Linked DNA regions of Homo sapiens: region 2 is linked to region 1. The links are contacts of gene promoters, found by promoter capture Hi-C in human tissues and cell types (Jung and others, 2019). All regions are on one chromosome and are shown on one strand. The core of a region is centred on a gene start or on the middle of the fragment in contact, and the rest is flanking DNA. Distances in the headings are between cores, read along the strand shown. Region 1 holds the start of MGLL (monoglyceride lipase). Region 2 overlaps LOC102723759 (a long non-coding RNA gene).

The links. Contacts are between HindIII fragments. The study calls those that stand out against the background at their distance.
Region 2: a fragment that was not itself captured here is called in contact with the fragment with the promoter of MGLL in region 1 in 1 of the 25 tissues and cell types used here (spleen).

Annotation. Positions count from the first base shown.
Region 1 is chr3:127,818,705-127,824,267 of GRCh38, forward strand. MGLL (monoglyceride lipase) reads right to left here and starts at 3,811. Exons shown (of 8, transcript NM_007283.7): 1 at 3,605-3,811; 2 at 2,990-3,134. The coding sequence starts at 3,614. RefSeq lists a silencer at 4,253-4,772. The HindIII fragment of the contact is 31,525 bases long and covers 1-5,563 here.
Region 2 is chr3:128,042,645-128,048,258 of GRCh38, forward strand. It overlaps LOC102723759 (a long non-coding RNA gene), which reads right to left. Exons shown (of 4, transcript XR_007096073.1): 2 at 1,443-1,559. Among named protein-coding and RNA genes, the nearest start is that of SEC61A1, 7.0 kb to the right of the region's middle. The HindIII fragment of the contact is 5,623 bases long and covers 1,291-5,614 here.

The DNA of each region.
Region 1 (5,563 bases), core at 2,561-5,060:
GCGGACCAAATCCCACTACTGCCAGCAGGGTCATTTGGAGAAAGATACTTTGTAACATTGGACCTCTGTTTCCTCATCTGTAAAATGGGAATAGTAAGAATAATAATACTTGTCTCACAGATTGATGTGAAGGTAAAATGAGGTCATGTGTGCACAGAATCTAGTCCAGACCCTAGAACATACCTGGCACTCAATTAATATGAGATAATTGTGCCATGCCTTAAGTATAAGATTTGTTATTACCGTAAACACTACAGCATGAATTTGCCTTGGTACTGCCAAATGGAGGTTTAAGTTCTGATTCCTGATGATGAAATACGGAGACTCTGGCCTGCTACGTTAAAAACAGCACTGATGGTAAAGGCTAACCCAAGACATGCTTTCTCTTTCTCAGGGTCCAGTCCGAGGAGGCTGGTGTTTATACGACAGAATTTGCTTGCATAAAGCGGGTTAAGCCAGGTTCCCAGTGCAGCGGCTGACACCTGTGGCTTAGTGTTGCTCCGAGCCACCTGCAGAGCCAGTCTTGGAACCCAGCAGGTCCTCTGGGGGCAATATGTCTCTGTAGGTGCTCACGGCAGGCTCCAGGAGCTGGAGGTAACTGGTTGGCCAGAAAATCTACCCAAACCAGTACTGACTAACCGAGGCTGGCACAGATCCTTCTGCATAATAAGATATCCACAGGCCCCCGGGGTGGCTTCTGAGGTCCCTAGGGTCTCTATGAGAAAGATAGCAGAGGCGGGGCTGGAGATGAGGTGCTCTTAACCCAGGTTTTGCCCACAGTTGGTACAGTAGTGGGGGAGGGTTCAGTCTCCTCTTTTTTTGCCCCTTGCTTTTCCTCCCTTCTTTCTTCCTAACTGGGAGGAGACAGGATTGCACAAAGCGAGGCCCTAGTTTTGCTGAAGAGGGGTAAAAAGCCTGGGGGGAAAGATTGAAGCCCTGGTGACTTGAGGTCCCCTCCCTCTTCCTAAAAGCAGAGTGAATGATTCTGTGCAGGCAATAATAATAATACTTATTATAATGATGCTGCGGGGGTCTCCCAGATCATGCAAGAGGGCAGGCAGGCTGAGCAGCTGGTCTCGGTTATGAAGATACAGAGGTGTTTCATGCTGGCTGGCACAAACCTCTGCCCTGAGCCCCCACCCTAGGACCCCCAAGACTGCCCCAAGATCCAGCAAGCACAGGGTTAACATGAGTCATGGCAAGGGGCCTCCAGGACCTCTGCATCATCTCCAGGGGCTGGAGGCAGGGCAGGACAGGTAGGTAGGACCTTGGCCAGCCCCTTCCTCTTTGGTAAACTGAGGATAACACTATGGAAAGTGTTCATACATGCTCATGGTTCTGTTGCTCTTTCTATTTCAGTGCTCCTGCCCTCAATATTTTTTTCCCTTAACCTTTTCTAGACCCATAGGTTTCTTCCAAATTCTGGGGCCGAACTGCCTCAACCATCCACCTCTGTTCTTAAGCCCATCAGCACCCACCACAAGGCGGACGCTGACATCCAAGAGGCAGCTCAGTTTAAATTAAGAAGTTGAGTTATCATCTCTAACTAGAGCAAAAGCAACGGAGCAGAGAGGGCTCCCTGCAATGCAACTTCAGCACAGAGATTGTGAAAACCACCCGCAGGCGAAGGGAGGGCAGGGCAGCCAACTTGACCGTTTCTAACCCACTCACCCACCACCCTCCCCCTGTGCCAGGACTGCAGAACCTCTTTATTTTTGTTGACTTCGAACTAGGACAACCTCACTACTTAACCAACAAAGCCCCCCAAGTCTGAGACTCAGACATTAAAAACTTCTATTTTCAATTATTTGTCTTCTTTCTGTATATTGATCAAATTACCACAAACCACTAATCTGTTAGAAATTAATCCAAGATTGAGCAATTCTACAGCCAGTTAAGTCAGAGTGGAGAATTAATGATTAATTAGCATCATAATGCTCAACAACCCCCCCACTTCCTCTAATGCGTATGCACGTACAGACACATTCTTTAAGAAATGTATTACCAGAACTGGTAGGAACTCTTCTCAGCACGTTACCCACTTGAAAACACTAGAGAGAAACCATAGCCAGTCTGTGTAGCTGCCCTGAAGCTATGACTCTATGCCGGGTTTTAAAAGTCCATATCTCTGTGTTTTTAACGTGCAGCTCCCTGGATCATAGATACCTTGATGAAGACAGAGAAGAAATTTTACACCTGTGTGAGGGTTGGGTGATTACTGGAGCACAAAGAGAGACATAATCCAACCACACAATGATCCCTAGGAGACAAGAGGCCTACAAAACAGGTAAAATGTCCCTGGAACAGGAAATGTTCTTGTCACCAGGCCAATTGGTTACCACAAATAAATTCTTTTTCCAAATAACACAAACAAGCAGGGTTTTCCTGCTTCATCCAAGAGGAGGGAGCAGCAGCAGGAGACCAGCTGTCTTGTGTATAGTCCCAATGTTTGCTTCTAATAGCAAGACAAATCCTTGATGGAAAATGTACAAAGTAATTGAGCTGGCAAGGAATCAGAAGGAAATACCCAGGCCCCTTTCTTCCTGGTGACACATGTATGCCATCTTCAGAAGCTCAGAAACAAGCAGGAAAAGTGAGCAAAGGTGAAGATATATGTATTACTTCGGGTTTCTCATCCATCTAGGGGATTTTCCTTAATTGTCGGGTTTGATTTTAAATGAATGCCTGTACAACCGGAAATCAACTCCAGTACAAAAAATAAAGTCATGTGGAATTTTTGAAAATTGCCATACGGTAGGATCCATATCTGAGTTGTTATAATGAAAAAAGAATTCCTGCTTCTTAAATTTAAAAATTATAAAGTATACATTTTAGCTTTGTTAACATTGCTCAGCCTAACATTAAAACGGCAGGGGAAGTAGGTCATAGAGAAAGCGGCCCCGCCCCAGATGGCACATGATAACGACCAGAGGAGAAGCAGGGGCCATGCTCCCCTGTCACCTGGGGTGACTTTCTGGGGAAGACTTACTTGGGTGTGCCTGTGGGTTTCCAGTACCTGCAGAAGAGGTACTGTCCGTCTGCATTGACCAGGTGAGGGAGGTCCTGGTAGGGAATGCTCTGCGGGGTCCGCCTGGGGGAACTTTCCTCTGGCATGCTGGAAGGGTCTTCAGGTCCTAGAAGGAAAAGTGACATATTCCAAAGTCAGAAATATCTCAAGAACATGTATGGATAGGAGAGAAAAGTCTAGTTCAGAGTCAGTAACATTTTTTTAAAAGCAGTTTAAAAAACCCCTCTGTTTCAAAGGTTTAAAACATACATACATTTCTTGCAAACCTCTCCAAGACTGAAAAATCCCATTTGTTCTTAAGAAAATGCTCACTTTATTTTTTAAGTGCCTCATTACAGTTTTTCCCCCTTCCCATCTGTGTTTATTTTAAATCATTTCAGGAAACTTCATCTTAAAGACTATTTTAGCTGTAATCAAGTGGAAATTATAGTCAGCTCTATGGGTACAAAGACCCAGCTGCAAGAAGACCCATCTATCTTAAAATCTCCAAGGAACAGTTTCAAGTGGGCACAATAATGAGGTGGATGATACTCAGATTATTCCTCCCATCTGAAATTCCAAGGATACATGACAAACCTGTTTCCATTATGTGCTGGCGTTTGCATTCCACAACCACGACAGCCTGGAGAATCAGAACCAGGCAAATCGGGCTGTTCCCTCATCTGGGCGGCCCCAAGGCAGCAGGAAGGCAGCTCCGAGCCCTCTTCCCGCACCCAGACCCTGCCTTTCGGGCTGGGGCGCTCAGCCGGGAGCCTGCTTCCAGCTCCCACCGGCAGGCTCTCCGGGGCTCCCCTCCCTCCCCAGGGCGGGGAGCGGCGCTGCGATTCTCCACTACTAGTTCATGTCATCACTTTTCCTAAACAAATCGCTAGAGGGGCTCGGAGAAGGGAGGGGCCCGGGAAACTGGGAAACTAGCTCCGCGCACACCGAGGCACCTCGCAGACGCACAAATGCGGGTGCCCAAGGCAAAGTCGCCCCCAAGGCTTCTCACAAACTTTGCTTCCTGTGCGTCTCCGACAGCACAGGACACGTAGCCCCGAAGCTGTCATCGGAAATGCCGCTGGGAAAACCGGGTGGGCTTCGCCGGGTGTCTGCACCGGGGAAGGTGGGGACTAGAAAGATGGAGTTGATGGGGACAAGTTGGTTTGGGGGCTGGTGCGAAGGAGCAGGGAGGGCGCGCGCGCGCGCACACGCGCGCACACTCGGACACGCGCGCACACACACCGTGCACACACACACACGCACACATGGGTAGCGGGAGCCCACGCCGGGCGTGTCCGGGACCCCAGTGCTGCTCCCCACCCCTGACGGCGGCACTGGCGGGCTGGGGCAGGGGCCGGGAGGCAGTTACCGGGGCCACGAGCGCCGCTGTCGCGTTCCCCGAGCGCAGCGGATCCTCGTTTGCGGCGGGCCAGGGCCGGGACGAGCTGCGCGCGACCGGCTTCGCGGCGACAGGGTGCGGCGTCTGCGCCGCCACTTTATCCCTGGGCCGGCTCGGCGGCGGGGGCGGCCCGAGGTGGGTGGGGACGCGCGGGACCCGGCGGGCGGCGGGCGGCGCGGGGAGGCGGCGCCCGGGGCCCACGTGTGCCCGGCCCGCGGGGAGGAGCGGGGGCGCCGCCCGCCGACCCAGCCACGCACTCCTCTCCTCCGCGCCTCGTGGACAGCCGCGCCCCGGGGTGGCCGCCCGAGGACTGTCAGGGAGGCCTGAACTGAGCTGGGTTCATGGGAGCCTCAGCGCGGGAGGACACACCACACCCACGGGCACACGCGCGCACACAGACCCACAGGCACCACACGTACACAGACAACTCGCGCAGGGCCGCACACTCACCACACGTGTACACATGTGCACTCCCAAAGTCACTACACTGCACGCAGGGACATACAGACACACATCCCAGAGATACCACATGCATACAGACACACACAGACCACACATGCATGCACACACACAAGCCGAGACATAGGCACAGACAACCCACAGAGACACAGAGGTGCACAGACATATGCAGACTATACACCTGGCCCCCACATAGACACAGACACACTCACATCATACACACACAGTCGCACACAGACACACTCACACTTCATTGCAGTCAGACACATACAATGCTGGAGGGGCAATTAACCGGTCGTGGTGGCATGCGCCTGTAGTCCCAGCTACTCAGGAGAATCGCTTGAACCCGGGAGGCAGAGGTTGCAGTGAGCCGATACCACACCATTGCACTTCAGCCTGGGTGACAGAGTGAGACTCCATCTCGGGGAAAAAAAAATGCTGGAGGGGGTCCACTTGACTCTAGGGTAGTGTAAAAGCAGATGGTGCATGGCTACAAATGCCTTGTCCCTTCCTGGCAATCCCCAGCAACTCTCCCGTTCCCAGCGGCTGTGACCCCCAGATAAAACCTCTGGTGCATCTACACAGGCCAGGGCACAGTCTGAGCTCTGTCCAGTATAACTAGCAACGTGGCCGTGGAGGGTAAGGCCACTGGACTGAGACTCCACACCACCTGGGTTGAACATTAGCTCCTCCGC
Region 2 (5,614 bases), core at 2,852-5,351, 220 kb after region 1:
TCTCAGCTCACTGCAACCTCTGCCTCCCGGGTTCAAGCGGTTCTCCTGCCTCAGCCTCCTGAGTAGCTGGGATTACAGGCGTGTGCCACCACACCTGGCTAATTTTTGTATTTTTAGTAGAGATGGGGTTTCACCATGTTGGCCAAACTGGTCTCGAACTCCTGACCTCATGATTCACCTGCCTCAGCCTCCCAAAGAGCTAGGATTACAGGCATAAGCCACCACACCTGGCCTAAGATACAGAGATTTTAAATGAGTAAAGTTATGTCACCATTAAATATTCAAGCCAGAAAGGATTGTGAGTCAGCTGGACTCCAAATCCATTACTGTTCCCACAATGGTGGGAATGTATGCTCACCCAGTGATGCAGGATTTTTCTCAGCCCCTCTGCTGGACTTGCGGAAGGGGCACCCCCTCTACTTGGCTGACCCCACTCAACCAACCCCTTGTGGGAGGGACCACATGAGTGAGCGAGTGTGGGTCCTGGCCAGATGCTCCAGGCACCAACACAGGAGCAAGCTCTATGTGAGGCCACAGCCTGACCAGGCGTGTCATCTCAAGGGGAACACGGCAGTGCCCAGGTGAGGGTGCCTGTGACCCCGAAGCCCAAGAGGGGGCATTACAGTGCTCCTTTAGTTTTGCCATCCATGGACGGGGGTGTGGTAGCTCAGTTAGCCCCTTGTCTCATTGTGTGGAGCAGCTGCCTTCCACTGGAGAGGGCAAAGGGCTGGTGTGATAGCCTTTCTGGGTACTGGCACTTGGTGGGTCCCGAGCTCTTATCTGGCATCCAAGAAGAATGAGGTCAGGTGGACAATTGAAGGATGGTGAAGGTGGAGAATTTAATTGAGCGATGGAAACAGCTCTCAGCAGAGAAGGGAGCTGGAGAGGGGAAAGGAAGGGCAGGTTGTCTTGCCCGAAGTCAGGCTATCTCATCTCTACCAACTGAGTCTTAGGTCTTTATAGGCACAGGATGGGGAGTGCAGGCTGATTGGTTTGTGAGTATGCAAAAAAAGGTTAAAGCGAAGACATCACTCAAATGTAGGCACGACAGTGTAAAAAACCAATTAGGAAAGGGTAGGTATGTGTAAAATAGGTGAAGGATGCTGATCAATCAGAGGAAAGTATGCCAAAAAGAAAGACAAGTTCTCAATCCAGTCCAAGGATTTAACTTGTAACTTGGCTTTCAGTCCTTCAACTGTCTTTGGCTTGGAGGTGAGGTTTCACTGGGTACCTGCCCCTATCTGCCTGGGCATTTGGCTGCCTCCTGTCACTATCACCAGCATGTATTCCTCCTTCTTATGGAAACAGCACATCAATTTTCCATGATAGAGCCACCCCTCCCACATTCTCAATCCGTGTGATTTGGGTAAGGCTAGTCTCAGGCCTGGCAAGTTCATTCTATTTTATACAGTCACAGAGATGGTTCAGGGGTGAACACTTACCCAGTAAAACTCAGTCTCAGGACTTTTCTAAGAACTGTGGAAAGATGAAAACTACTCTTTCTGTTGAACTTGACACTATGAAGCCTGGGACTTCTGAGGTCCCTCCAAGGAGGAAGCCTGAATATGAAAGAAAGCAAAGAGATATGGAGAAACTGAGTCTGACAACAGTTTTTGAGCCTTGCCTAAATCCATCTTTGCCTAAAGCTAGATCTACCCTTTGACTTTTCAGTTACAGGAGCCAAAAAATTCCAGTATATTTTTTCTCAAGCGTGTTCGAAGTAATTCTTTTGTCATGTACAATTGAAAGAGGAGTTACAAAATTAATGCAGGCAGTTCTTAAATCCACATAACCACCAAGCATTGTCTACAGATGATCTGTTCACTATTGTTAATCCTGTGTGGTGGGAATACAGTGTTCATCTTATTAATCTTTAAACTTTTCTGTACTTTTAACCTCATTAAGAAGATCAGAGAGGTAATGAAAACAGCACTGAAAAAAAACAGATCAGTTTCCAGCACAGAAAAGGAAAAAATACAAATTGTTCAGTCTCTCTCAGATCCAAAACCTAATACCTGGATGAGTATCTGGTGTAATTCTCACATTAACACCCTGTGCCACAGGTTTTTGTATTTGGGTTAAGCAAATAAGTAATGGTTAGTTTTGTATCGAATTGGCTAGGCTAGAGTAACCAGTTATTCAGTCAAACACTAACTTAGGTGTTGCCTTGAAGATATTTTTGTAGATGTCAATTACCTTAAAAAATATTATCTTCAATAACATGGGTGGACCACATCCAATCAGCTGAAAGGCCTTAGAAAATGGAGGTTTCCCTGAAGGAGAAGAAATTCTTCCTGTGGGCACCTCATCAGCTCCTGCCCAATTTCCCGGACTGTCGGCCCTACTGCATGAAATTTCAGATACACCCAACCAGACTTCACAATCATATTATGTCAATTCCTTGAAATACACCTATTTTTCTCTCTCTTTCTATTTCTCTACCATATATATCTCTCTGATATATATACCGCCGGCCCTCCATATCTGTGCTGCATCTGCAGATTCGGCCAACCATAGTTTGAAAATATTTTTTAGGCTGGGAAGGGTGGCTCACGCCTGTAATCTCAGCACTTTGGGAGGCCCAGGCAGGAGGATCACCTGAGGTCACAAGTTCAAGACCAGCCTGGCCAACACGGTGAAACCTCGTCTCTACTAAAAATACAAAAATTAGCTGGGCGTGGTGGTGGGTGCCTGTAATCCCAGCTACTTGGGAGGCTGAGTCAGGACAATTGCTTGAACCTGGGAGGTGGAGACTGCAGTGAGCTGAGATCATGCCACTGCACCCCAGCCTGAGCAGAGCAAGACTCTGTCTCAAAGAAAAAAAAAGTTTTTTAAAAAACAATGAAAAATAAAACATAAATACAAAGAGCTATTTATATAGCATTTACATTGTTAGATGTAAGTAATGTAGAGATCATTTAAAATATACAAGAGGATGTGTGTAAGTTATAACCAAATACTACACCATTTTATATCAGGGACTTGAGCATCCACAGATTTTGATATCTGCAGAGGGTGGGGATGCTAGGGTTGGGGGGTCCTGGAACCAACATCCCACGGATACCAAGGGTCGACTGTATGCATCTCCTACTACTGGTTCTGTTTCTGTGGTAGAACCCTGACTGACACAATCTGCCATGCCCTGGATGTTTCTTGGGTATTCTCTGATCTCCAGAATGGGAAAAGCCTCCTGAATTCTTCCCTGGGAGTCAGGCCTGCCTGGCTTCCTTTTCTTTTTTTCCTCCTGGAGAGCTTCTATCTCAGAAATCTGGAAGGCCTCTATCTCTGAAGGGCACCATTTTCCTTCATCTGTCTAGCTCGTCATGCATTTGCTAGATATTAACAACTGTAATGAAGCCTAGCTTCTCCAATGATAGCTTTATTGCTAGCCTTACTCTTTGTTTTAGCCATAGGGAGCTATCTCTGTCCAATCCCAGAAATTTACCATATTCCCTCCCCTTTCTCCTTCTCAAGTCCCACTTTCTCTTCACCACCTGTTAGACAGACTGAGAGCTGTCTCCCAATACCCATTCTCCCCTTGTTCCATGGCAGTAGCCAGCCCATGACTTTACAGGATAAAGACTAGATTTTTCAAACTCCTTTTCAGATAAGTGCAACTAGGTTATAGCCAAAGGAATAGAATAGATGCAATGTGTCCAACTTCCAGGTTGTGCATTAACAGAAGGGCAGTCCCACCTCTCCCTTTTCTTTCATCTTCCAAATGGCCAAAATATAGACACAATGATGGGCCATACTGGATTTTGTGGGCCACAGCACCACCCAAAAGGGAGTGGAGAAATAAGAGAGAGCAAGCTTCAGACCTATACTGCTACCTGGACTTCCATCTGGTTTATGATACTGATTTGTTTTTTTTGTTTTTTTTTTTTAATCTGCAGCAACGGCTAATTTTTTTTTTTTTTTTTTTTTTTTTTTTGAGATGGAGTCTCGCGCTGTTGCCCAGGCTGGAGTGCAGTGGCGCAATCTTGGCTCGCTGCAACCTCTGCCTCCCAGGTTCAAGCGATTCTCCTGCCTCAGCCTCCTGAGTAGCTGGGATTACAAGTGCGTGCCACCACGCCCGGCTAATTTTTGGTCTCCAACTCTGACCTCATATCTGCCCGCTTCAGCCTCCCAAAATGCTGGGGTTACAGGCGTGAGCCACCGTGCCCAGCTAACAGCCGGATTTATATCCTAACCAACACACCAACTGGCCAAAAGAATAACCAGCTCCCCCAACCCGCTGTCTTCCCCAACCTAATTATTATATCGGATTGTCTTGTTACCTGGCTGTTCCTCCTCCTTCCCACCCTTAAATATGGTTGACCCCCTCTCCCACTGGGTCTCTCCTTGAATCTGGTCTCTCTATGCTTTCTCCCTTAGAAATCTCATCCACTCTCATGGAAAACGACTTAACATGCTTCTAATCCTAACTCATTTCTGAGCACCAGGTCTGCTTATTGGACTTCTCATTGATCAATTTCCAGTACCTCAAACTCTGCATGTTTAAAATAAAATTCACTTTCCTCTCTCTCACACACACACACAAACACACACACACACACTCACCATGGGGGTAAGTAGGCAACCTGTTCTCGATTTCCTTATTTAGGTAAATGAAATAAATGACACCCCCATCCTGCCAAGAACCCAGGCTTAAAACTACAGCAGAGGCCACAAATTCAAATGCTTAGAGACCAGGCAAGAGGCAAGGGACAAGTGGTAACTGTGGGGAGCCAAAGAGCTGCTGACCAATCTTAAAAAAGCAGCCACAACTTACTGATTTCTGGCATGTAGGAATATTAGCCTAGTGCTGTCGGGTCTTCTGATCTTCCAAGAGAAGTAAAAAATCTAGATTTTATGTTTTATGTGATCTCTCTAGATTTTACAAACAAAACAAGAAGTCATCTTGAACTGGTCAATATGTAAATCAAAAATTTAAAAACATATCTCCTATTTCTAAATAAATATCATAAAATGACAATGTAACTTGCAGCAAAAATAATTTGACAGATCTTTCTAGTATGTCTAAATCATTTCTTGGTTTTTGGAAGTTATGAATCTTTTGATACAGTTGTCACTAGATTTTGCCCCTGTATGGAGTGATGATTTGACATAGGAAGCAACATCAAATTGTTCCAACAACTTCCTCATTAAATGGATAATCATTAAATGAATTAAGCAGAGAATTTCCTTAACATCAATGATACTGTTTTTAGTGTTGAATCCTCAGTTTCTTATTAATAGCAATTAAATTTAAACATTTTATAGACTATAATAAAGTCTAAGAACATACAGAACTGATTCAATATCTGTTATTGACTAAGTCACACAAATCACTTATTGAAATATCTTTTAACTTACTGGCTTATTCACTATGTTCTGTTCACTCTCAATTCACGGAGCTTCACAAACCAGGGGGCTTTATTTCAAGATTCAAAAAATTGAAAGGGCTTAAAAGTTTATTACATTTTTCACTTTTGTCACCAAATACATTGATTTATTAGAAAAGCCAATAATTTTTCTCTTGGAATTGATACTTCACTTTTTTTTTCAAACAGGATACCTATTTTTTCTTATCCATAATAACTTCCACTTGTTTCAAACTTCCCTTTGTTTA